Linked DNA regions of Homo sapiens: region 2 is linked to region 1. The links are contacts of gene promoters, found by promoter capture Hi-C in human tissues and cell types (Jung and others, 2019). All regions are on one chromosome and are shown on one strand. Each heading gives the region's core, a stretch centred on a gene start or on the middle of the fragment in contact. The rest is flanking DNA. Distances are from core to core; before and after follow the strand shown. Region 1 holds the start of AADAC (arylacetamide deacetylase). Region 2 overlaps AADACL2-AS1 (AADACL2 antisense RNA 1).

Evidence for each region. The method cuts DNA at HindIII sites, captures the fragments that hold promoters and counts their contacts. A contact is called where the count stands out against the background at its distance.
Region 2: a contact is called between a fragment that was not itself captured here and the fragment with the promoter of AADAC in region 1, in 1 of the 25 tissues and cell types used here (heart right ventricle).

Annotation. Positions count from the first base shown.
Region 1 is chr3:151,811,205-151,816,116 of GRCh38, reverse strand. It overlaps AADAC (arylacetamide deacetylase), which reads right to left and starts at 2,001. Exons shown (of 5, transcript NM_001086.3): 1 at 1,817-2,001. The coding sequence starts at 1,954. The region is part of intron 1 of AADACL2-AS1 (AADACL2 antisense RNA 1); the gene reads left to right. The HindIII fragment of the contact is 13,838 bases long and covers 812-4,912 here.
Region 2 is chr3:151,865,950-151,870,536 of GRCh38, reverse strand. The region is part of intron 1 of AADACL2-AS1 (AADACL2 antisense RNA 1); the gene reads left to right. Among named protein-coding and RNA genes, the nearest start is that of SUCNR1, 5.4 kb to the left of the region's middle. The HindIII fragment of the contact is 7,136 bases long and covers 1-4,587 here.

The sequences.
Region 1 (4,912 bases), core at 752-3,251:
GCACTCTATTGTAGTCATCTCAGTAATATTAACAACTTGCTTATATGGGAGGAAGATAACATTTTCTTATCCATGTCAGATATGAGGAAAGTGAGCCCAGGAAGGTTAAATATGTCGTCCATGCCTACACAACTAGTAAATGATATTTACCAGGATTCTCAATCCAGTAGTTTGATTCTTGATGTAATGTTCATAACATAATCCTTTAATAAAGGGTATGAACACTCAAAGATTGCCAGACATTTCAGAGAAGCCAGCAAAACTAATCAGGAAAAAAGGGACAAACCAGGAGCATAAACGATCACAAAAAAGCAAGCAAACAAACAAGCAGATAATTCAGGAATAAGAAAGGGCATTAAAACAACTTTTAAAAGGTATATCGACTGAGAGCTCTGAAAATACATTACTTTCATAAATTGTGGACAGAATGTAAGTAAATGAATGAATTAATTAATTAAAAGGCTACCAGAGAAGAATATATATATAATTGCTTAAATAAATAAAAATTAATATAAAGACTCCAAGAAAAAAATCAAAGACCTCTCACATATTGTAGCACAGACAGCAAATATGAGGGAAAAAAATGTGTCCCTTTCTTAAAGCTCTTTAATAGCTCTGCATCACATACAGAATTAAATCAAAACTTACTACCAGTGCCCACAAAGCACTGTATGATATGGCTTCTAACCTCTCCAAACTAATTGCAACAATTTCCCCATTAAACCCAAATGTTTCATATGATTTCTTGGACTTGTCAATATTCTGTAGCTGGGGTGTTTTTACTTGTTGGTGTCTCTGCTGGAAAACATTTTTCTTAGCACTTAGAATGGTTGGTTTCTTTTCATTCTTCTGGTCCCTAAGTAGCTGTTTCCTCTTCAGAATGGCTTTTTCTCACCATGCATACAGTAGCCCACTCTTGCCTTCTGCCCAAATTACTCTCTTTTCTTCCATCTTACCTCCTTAAAGGTACTTCTCATGAACTAAAATCATTTATTCATTTAATTCTAATTTATTTTTTTCTCCACCACTAGAATGTCAACTGTGTGGGGATAGACTACTTGTTTGCCTAATAGGATTTGAGACAGTTGAATTGTTGAATAAATGCAAAATAAAAGATTAATCCAGGAGTTACAACATTTATCTGGTTTAAGTTCTGAAAAGAGATTTGTTTTAATGAAGATAATAAAATAACCAAAGAAGTAATAGTAAAATATCATCAAGGATCCAGAGAGAGCTACACCTTTTTAATTTGCCAGCATCCAAGCTGCCCAGTTGCCAGGACACCCAGGTCTCCCTCCCCCTCTCATTTGTGCATATTGTGCCGTCTCGTGGTTAACCCTAGGCATGTGCCAACCAGCCTGCCCATTGAATCTTTTCTTGAGAACTTATTTACGTGTCCTTAGTCTATATTCTGAATCCCAAAGATAAGTGCATAAAAATCTGTAACTAACACAGTGCTGCATAATCAGATGATCTCTAATTTGAGTATAAAATTTAAGGAACAAACCATACCTAAGATAAGAATTTCAAAGGAGAGCCACTATCGTGATATTAAAGCTACCTAAACAAAGTACTTTTTAGCAAAACCTATTCAAATGACTCCTTGCTTGCTGTTCTTGATATTTTTTTAACATGATTCCAATACATAAGACAGAAAACAAACAACATTTCTAAGTAACACATTGTCAAAGGCCACAGCAGTTATTTTAAAAGATGAATAAGTCAATAAATCAAAAGAATAGAATCTTGAAAAACTTAATTCTCTGGGTCAAATGGTGGTGTATGCACATCTGAATTCATAAAATTCCAAACTTACCAAATTTTGTATAGTTTTCAGATGTGCGTTTATCCACATCATTCTCCATGGCTCCTCAACGTTATCTGGGAGAGGCGTATAAATATAATATGCTATGAGGATCCCCACAATCAGAAGGTACAGCGATTTTCTTCCCATGGTGAACGTCCCGCTTCTTGGTCTCTAGAAACACAGAAAGTAAACCTACATGATATGCCTGAATAGTGTACTTTAATAAGCAGTGTGCTTCAGCTCCACCCAAAAGCTTTGAAAACAGAGTTGCTCACTTAGTTTAAGGGTTGGCATAATAAGGCCAAAATTTTATCTGTTATCCAGATACAGTCATGTTAAGTGCAACTTCAAGGTTTAATGAGTAATAGGAAACTAGGGCAAAGTTTGTCAATGATCATGCTGTTATCTGTATTCCAATAAACAGCATGTATTGAGTAATAACTCGGGAACAAATTCTTTAACTCTAACAAAATTATCCATAGAAAACATACAGAATTCAGAATCTTTGTTTTAAAATAGCTTATCATGGAAAAAACAAATTATATATATACACACACACATATATATACATATATATGTGTGTGTGTATATATATATATTTTTTGATACAGAATCTTCCTCTGTCACCCAGGCTGAGTCCATAAGAAGCGTTTTGTGTCAATAAGTAGTTTGTTTGAGGGTGTGTTAGGCAGTGGGATTTCCATGCATTGGGAAGTGGGGACGGGGTTTAGGCAAGTGTTCCACCCTGCGATTTCTATGCAGGGCCTGTGTCAGTTATTGCAGAATCCTGATGTTTCTCCCGTGACTTGGGTCTGACGGGGGTTGGAGATTTTGAGAGTTTGTGTGGGGTTTTTTTCTGTTATTGTTTGGATGCCTGTCGGGGGAGTGAGTGTTAGGGTACAGTTGCATAAGCTAGAGGAGAGGGTGCCTAGGGGCACTCCTTTGGAAAGTTCACGCTTTATGCATAGGGATGCTGGTTGACTGAGTTCTGAGTCTGGGGTAAGTGTTCCTAAGATAACCTTGTGTTCTGCAGTATGTGTGGTAAGATTGAGTTTGTAACTTTTGAGTGCATTTACTTCTCCAAAACTTTGGTAGCGGGGGTGGAGGGTCATATTGCTGAGAACCCAGTCTTTGAGGGGAGCTGGGAAGACATCTTTTGATACGGTTTCTGAGGGGTGTACCAGCAGGCCTTGGCCAGGGAGGGGTTAGTTTGACTGAGTATCATATGTGCCTGTGGAATGGTGCGCTGTAGGTGGAGCGGTAGCGAGAAGGAGGAGGGAAGAAGGAGTAAATAGACAGAGAGCAAGTGTAAAGGTAAAGAATTCGGCTTCATCTGGAGTGAATTCCTGTAAATCCCCTTGAAATATAAGATTGGTGATCCAATCAAGGAATGCTGTGAGGGTGGGATGTTCTGGGTAGGACCATGAAAGGTTTTCTGTGATGCAGTGAAGGAAGAGTGTGAAATGCCAGGATGGGCAAAGACAGGACATTTAGGAGGGGCCACTATCTGTTGGTGGTGGCTATTATACCTGCTATGAGGAGGATTATGAGGCAAGAGGTTACGAATATTGAGTTTTTTTTGTCTGAAATTCCACCCAGGAGGCAAGACAGTATATATTCCTATGGCAAAGAGTAGAGTAAGTAGGGTGATTCCTGCAAGGGCAGCGTAATGGATGATTTCCATTAATAAGGGTTTGGATACTTAATGGTAAGGGGTGATAACTTATCTGCTATGGTTCATGAGGGAAGAGTGGGGTCTTCAGGCATGGGCGTTAGGCGGAGTCGAATTGGTCTGAGAAGAGTGCTGGAGTATTTGCAGGGAACAGCTGGTTGGTTAGTTGGTGATGGGTCAGCTGCAGGTGCTCTTTTTAACCTGGAAAGATGGTACCAAGACTTGTGTTCTCAAAGTTTGGCTGCAGTGGAGGTAGCGAGAAGGACTTGGAAAGGGATTTCGCACTTTGGCATGAGACTTGTTGATTTTTAGGAAGACATATTCTCCTGGAAGGAGTGTTTGGTCAGTGGTGCCTTGGTGGGGTTTTGTGGGGGCCTGGTCAGCTTGTTCGCAGAGGAGATGATGGATGAGGGAGAGTGTTGGGAGGTATTCTAATTGATACTCAGGAGGGGGTCTGTTTTGTAAGAGGAAAGGGCATCCATACATTAAGTCGAATGGACTGAGGAAGGAGGGGGCCTTTGGACTGGCTCTGATATGAGCCAGTGCTATGGGTAAAATGGAGGTCTAAGGTTTTTTAACCTCAAGTGTGAGTTTGGTTAACTGAGTTTTGAGAATTCCATTTGCCCTTTGGACTTTTCCAGATGACTGGGGCTGGTATGGGATATGGAGGCACCACTGAACACCAAGGGATTGAGAGACTTGTTGGGTAATTTGGGAGATGAAGCTAGGCCCATTATCTGATTGTATGGAACAAGGGAGACCAAATCTAGGGATGATTTTTGTTATGAGAATTTGAGAGATTTTTCTGAAGGGGTAGGAAATGCTTCTACCCAACCTGAAAAAGTGTCTATGAGAGTAAGAAAATATTTAGTTTTTTTGACAGGAGGCATGTGGGTGAAGTCTACTTGCCAGTCCTCCCCTGGGAGTGTTCCTCTGAGCTGATGTGTAGGGATGAGGAGAGGGCGGAGGGCCCCTTGGGAGGAAGTAACAGAGCATATATGACAGTTTGAGGTTATGTCCTTTAGTGAGGTGAATAGATGGGGGGAGGAGAAATAAGGGTGAAGGAGTAGGTACAGGGGGCGCCCACTGATATGGAAGGATTGGTGAAGAGATGTTGGAATTTCCTTGGTTTGCTCTTGGGGAAGAATGAGCTTTTGGTTTTTGATTATCCAGTCCCCTTGAAGGGAGGCTCCTTGCTGTAGTAGTGAAGAGTTTTTGGTGGGAGAGTATCTGGGTTGGACTGCTGGGGTGACAAGGAGGATGGGGGCAGGGATAGGAGAAAGAGAGGCCTGTTTCGGTGCTCATCAGCCTATTTCCTCTTGAGATTTCATCTGAACCTGCTTACTGTCCTCGACAGTGTATGACTCCTGCTTCAGTTGGGAGGTGTGCAGCCTGAAGGAGTTGGTAAATAAGGGGGCCATTAGTAATGAGGG
Region 2 (4,587 bases), core at 1,532-4,031, 54 kb before region 1:
TGAGTTCTAATCCTGGCTTTGCCTTTTACTAGTTTGTGTGATCTTTGAAAAAAAATCACATAACCTGATTTCCTTGTTTGGAAAAGGGGAATAATAATTCCTACCCATCAAACTCATAATGTTCATAGTATCAAATTATATAATGTTTGAAAATGCAATGGGCTTGAAATTGAAGAGCAGTTCATGTAAACCAGGCAAACTAATCAGGAAATTCAAGAGGAAAAAGAAAATGGTGGGAAATATAATATAAATATTAATTAAATCCAATGCTAGTAATAACTTCTGCTGGGTCCGGTGGCTCACACCTATAATCCCAGCACTTTGGGAGGCCAAAGCAGGAGGGTCACTTGAGCTCAGGAATTCAAAACCAACCTGGGCAACATAGCAAGACCTCCTCTACTAAAAATCGAAAAAATTGGCTGGGAGTGGTGGAACACACCTGTAGTCCCAGCTACTCAGGTGGCTGAGGTGGGAGGATCACTTGAGCCCAGGATGTCAAGACTGTAATGAATTATGATGGCATCACTTTACTCCAGCCTGGGTGGCAGAGTGGGATCCTGTCTAAAAAAAATTAATAATAACTTCTACTAACATTTTTTCAGCATTCACTCTATAATAACACAGTGTATGCAGTGATTCTTTTAATATTCACAATAATTTAATGCAGTGGATATTATTAATATCACTCATTTTCAGTTGAAGAAATCAAGGCCTAATAAAGATTAAATAAATGATCCACAAATACACAGCTAATACATGATTTGGCTGTATAATTTGAAGCCTTATCTGTTTGACTCCTGAATCCAAACTCTTCTCCATTATTCTCCTGAGTCACTCATGGTAAAGATGAAAATATTAGATTGAAACATAAAATTATTGATATTGGAACATTTTTACCTTATATATGGCAATTTTATATAGTTTAGTAAAATAAATTTAAAACTAACACTAAATTTAATTATTAGTTATAAAACTTATTGATTATCAAATTTAATAATTTAAATCTTCCAACTTCCAAAAAGAATAGAACATTTTAGATAAAAATCAAACATGTTAAAAATAAATAGTTAAAGTATTTATAGAAAGATTCTCCTAGCAACGTCTCTGGGAATGTTTACAAGCCACATTTAACAGCCCAAAAAGTCTGTGTGGAAAACAAAACTGGTTTAAGGGTCATGCTAATCTTCAAGGGTCACAAGCAGAGAAAGAAGAGGGCAATTAATCTAATTCGAGGACTTTCTTCTAAACCCGTAAGGAGAAACAATAATAATAATAACAACCCCCAGAAGTTGAAACAAATCAAGATTATTGGGGAGGATATTTTGGTGTTTCTGGATAGATATAAGCAAGATTACATGGTTACTTCCTTTTTCAATGAATGGTTTCATGTAGCAAAATAATAAAGGACAAACAGCAAAAGGAAAAACACAGCAGAAGGTATTTGTGCATGTCTCAAAATTCTTCCGGCTTCTAGAAATCAATAAATTATATTAACCAAATTTACTTTACCACGGAAAATGGTCTATTCAAAATAGGCACTCAAGCAATCTACTTCCTTTTCCTATGAAAATCCTTGTCATTTAAGAGCTACATTATTAATGGAAATTTTTGCATTACTGACTTTTTTCTGATTATACAGTTAAGAAAAATATGTGTCATATCTATTGGTACTGGGCATAACTCAAAGGAATTGTTCTGCTAAATTAAAACACATTATTTGTTAAAAGCATCTGACTACAGCTAAAATATTCTAAGTTCCTTGAAGTACTAACAATTAACCTAGAAACACAGCAAATTCACCTTTTATCTTTCAGTTTATATGCAAATTCCACAGCTAATTCATTTTTGATAATATGTGCTGAACCTTAATCACAGGTGTTTCTCTATACAAATAATGTTGTTTTGTTTCCTTGAATAGAAATAGCGGTATATGAAATTCAGGCATTTGTGTACAATTAGAGACAGATTTCATTTCCTCTTTCTCTCTCTTTATCTTTTTATTTTTATTTACTTATTTATTTATTTTTGAGACAGGGTCTTGTTCTGTCACCCAGGCTGGAGTGCAGTAGCATGACCATAACTCACTGCAGCCCTGATCTCCTGGGCTCAAGCGATCCTCCTGCCCTCAGCCTCCTGAGTAACTGGCACTACATGTGCACACCACCACGCCTGGTTAATTTATTTTTTTAGGTTTTTTGTAGAGAAAAGGTTAGCGAGGCTCATCTCGAACTCCTGAGCTCAGGCAATCCTTCCACCTCAGCCTCCCAAAGTACTGGATAGCACTTTGCTATCCAGGTATGAGGCATCACACCAGGCCAGATTTCATTCTTAACTGTTGCTGATCAAGGCATCTTTTTTATTTAAAGAAAAGAGTTTGCCTAAAATATTAAAGTAATTTATTAATTTGCTAATTGATTACTTGACTACTCAGTCTCTTCCAGTCACATTTACTGTATTTTGTACAAATTTGCTTGATTCCTGGAATATTTTACATTATTTATAGAAACAAAAAAGCAGCTAGTTTATTGTCTTGATGTACTTTTTCAATTGGCTACTAATTAACCACTCTTCATTTTACTTGCTTGAATATATTATTTGCCCTTGAAATAAGAACAAGAAGTCAGTCTGATTGAATCTCATTGAGCATCCTAGTAATTGAATTGAGAGGTTTTCAAAATTCCCTGGAGTACAAGAGTATGTGTTCATTAAGTGAGCTAAGTGGTTTGTGACTGTGTTATGAATTAAAGAAAATTACCTGCCCCTGTTAATAACACACTCAGTGGCATGATTCCTTTGTATTAGTATCTTTATCGCTATAATATAATCATTAATGTACTGACTACATTTAAACTTATATTTTATGCTGATTTGTTAACTGTAAAGCTGATAAAATTTGGCTTTACCATTAGGTCAGTATTGTAATAAAGCAAATAAAGAATTTTCAGAATGTAGCAGTCTGACAATTATAAGCAATGTAAAGCGTTAAGGAAATACCTCATTCTCTGCTTTAAAAAATATCTCCCCATCCTATATTTATTATTTATGTGTCCATATGTTGTATTTTTTCACTTTCATCTAACTTTAAATCCTAACATAATTTGTACTACTTGAAAGAATTATTGCCAGTCAAAATGCCATGTGTGGACTGTCAGATCTAGAAAAATGCTTCTAAGTCATTCACTCTAGATCCCTCATCATCACAACAAGGACATCAGCCTCAGAGTGGTTAGAGGGGATACGGCTGGGAAGGCTGACTCTGGGAAAAATGAAGAATATCTTGTGCACAATGGAAATGGGAGGACTCACCCTAGGGGAAGAGAGAGTGGCAGAGAACCCTCCCTGACAGCTGTGTGTATACACTGTTTCCTGATGTTAAAGGAGAAAATCACTCTTACCCATCCCCAGGCTAGGACCTAACAATGTCTATTCTAAAAAACATGAAAAAAAAAAAAAAAAAAAGAAGGAAAGAAAAACAATAGCAAGCTTGAGAGAGAGAATACAGCAGTTTGACCTTCCACCATGCACCCTTCTTGGGGAAAGGGATATAACAAGCCTTGTCCCTGCCAAAGGACCTCCAAACACAGAAACTTCTACCCAAAGACCATTTACTTTAAACAAAAGTCTGTGTTTGTTCACTGTGACGGCAGTAAAATGCAACAGCTGCATCAATTTGTTTTGCCACTGAAAAAGCCTGTCATCCTCAAACTTGAAGCATACTTTTTGAGTGAAAATGGCCCTTCCCTTTATTCTACTATTTCCCCCCTTTTCACTCAACATTTTTTGAAGACGTGTACGTTTATCTATCAGGAACTGGTGAAATACTAATTTATAGCAGAGATTAGAATACAGGGAAAATAAAACAAAACTGTTTCCAATAGCACTAGATTCTGGAATGTAAAATACCAAGCATTATGAGAGGAGGAAGAGAAGCAGTGATTAGAAAAGCACTTCACAGACTAATATCCAGAATCTACAAGGAACTTAAACAAATTTACAAGAAATAAACAACCCCTCAAAAAGTGGGTGAAGGATATGAACAGGGACTTCTCAAAAGAAGACATTTATGCAGCCAACAAATATGAAAAAAAATCTCATCGTCACTGATCATTAGAGAAATGCAAATCAAAACCACAATGAGATACCATCTCATGCCAGTTAGAATGGCAATCATTAAAAGTCAGAAAACAACAGATGCTGGAGAGGATGTGGAGAAATAGGAACGCTTTTACACTGTTGGTGGGAGTGTAAATTAGTTCAACCATTGTGGGAGACAGTGTGGTGATTCCTTAAGGATCTAGAACCAGAAATACCATTTGATCCAGCAATGCCATTATTGGGTATATACCCAAAGGAATATAAATCATGCTGCTATAAAGACACATGCACACGTATGTTTATTATGGCACTACTCAAAATAGCAAAGACTTGGAACCAGCCCAAATGTGCATCAATTTTAGACTGAATAAAGAAAATGTGGCACATATATACCATGGAATACTACACAGCCATAAAAAAGGATGAGTTCATGTCCTTTGCAGGGACATGGATGAAGCTGGAAACCATCATTCTCAGCAAACTAACACAGGA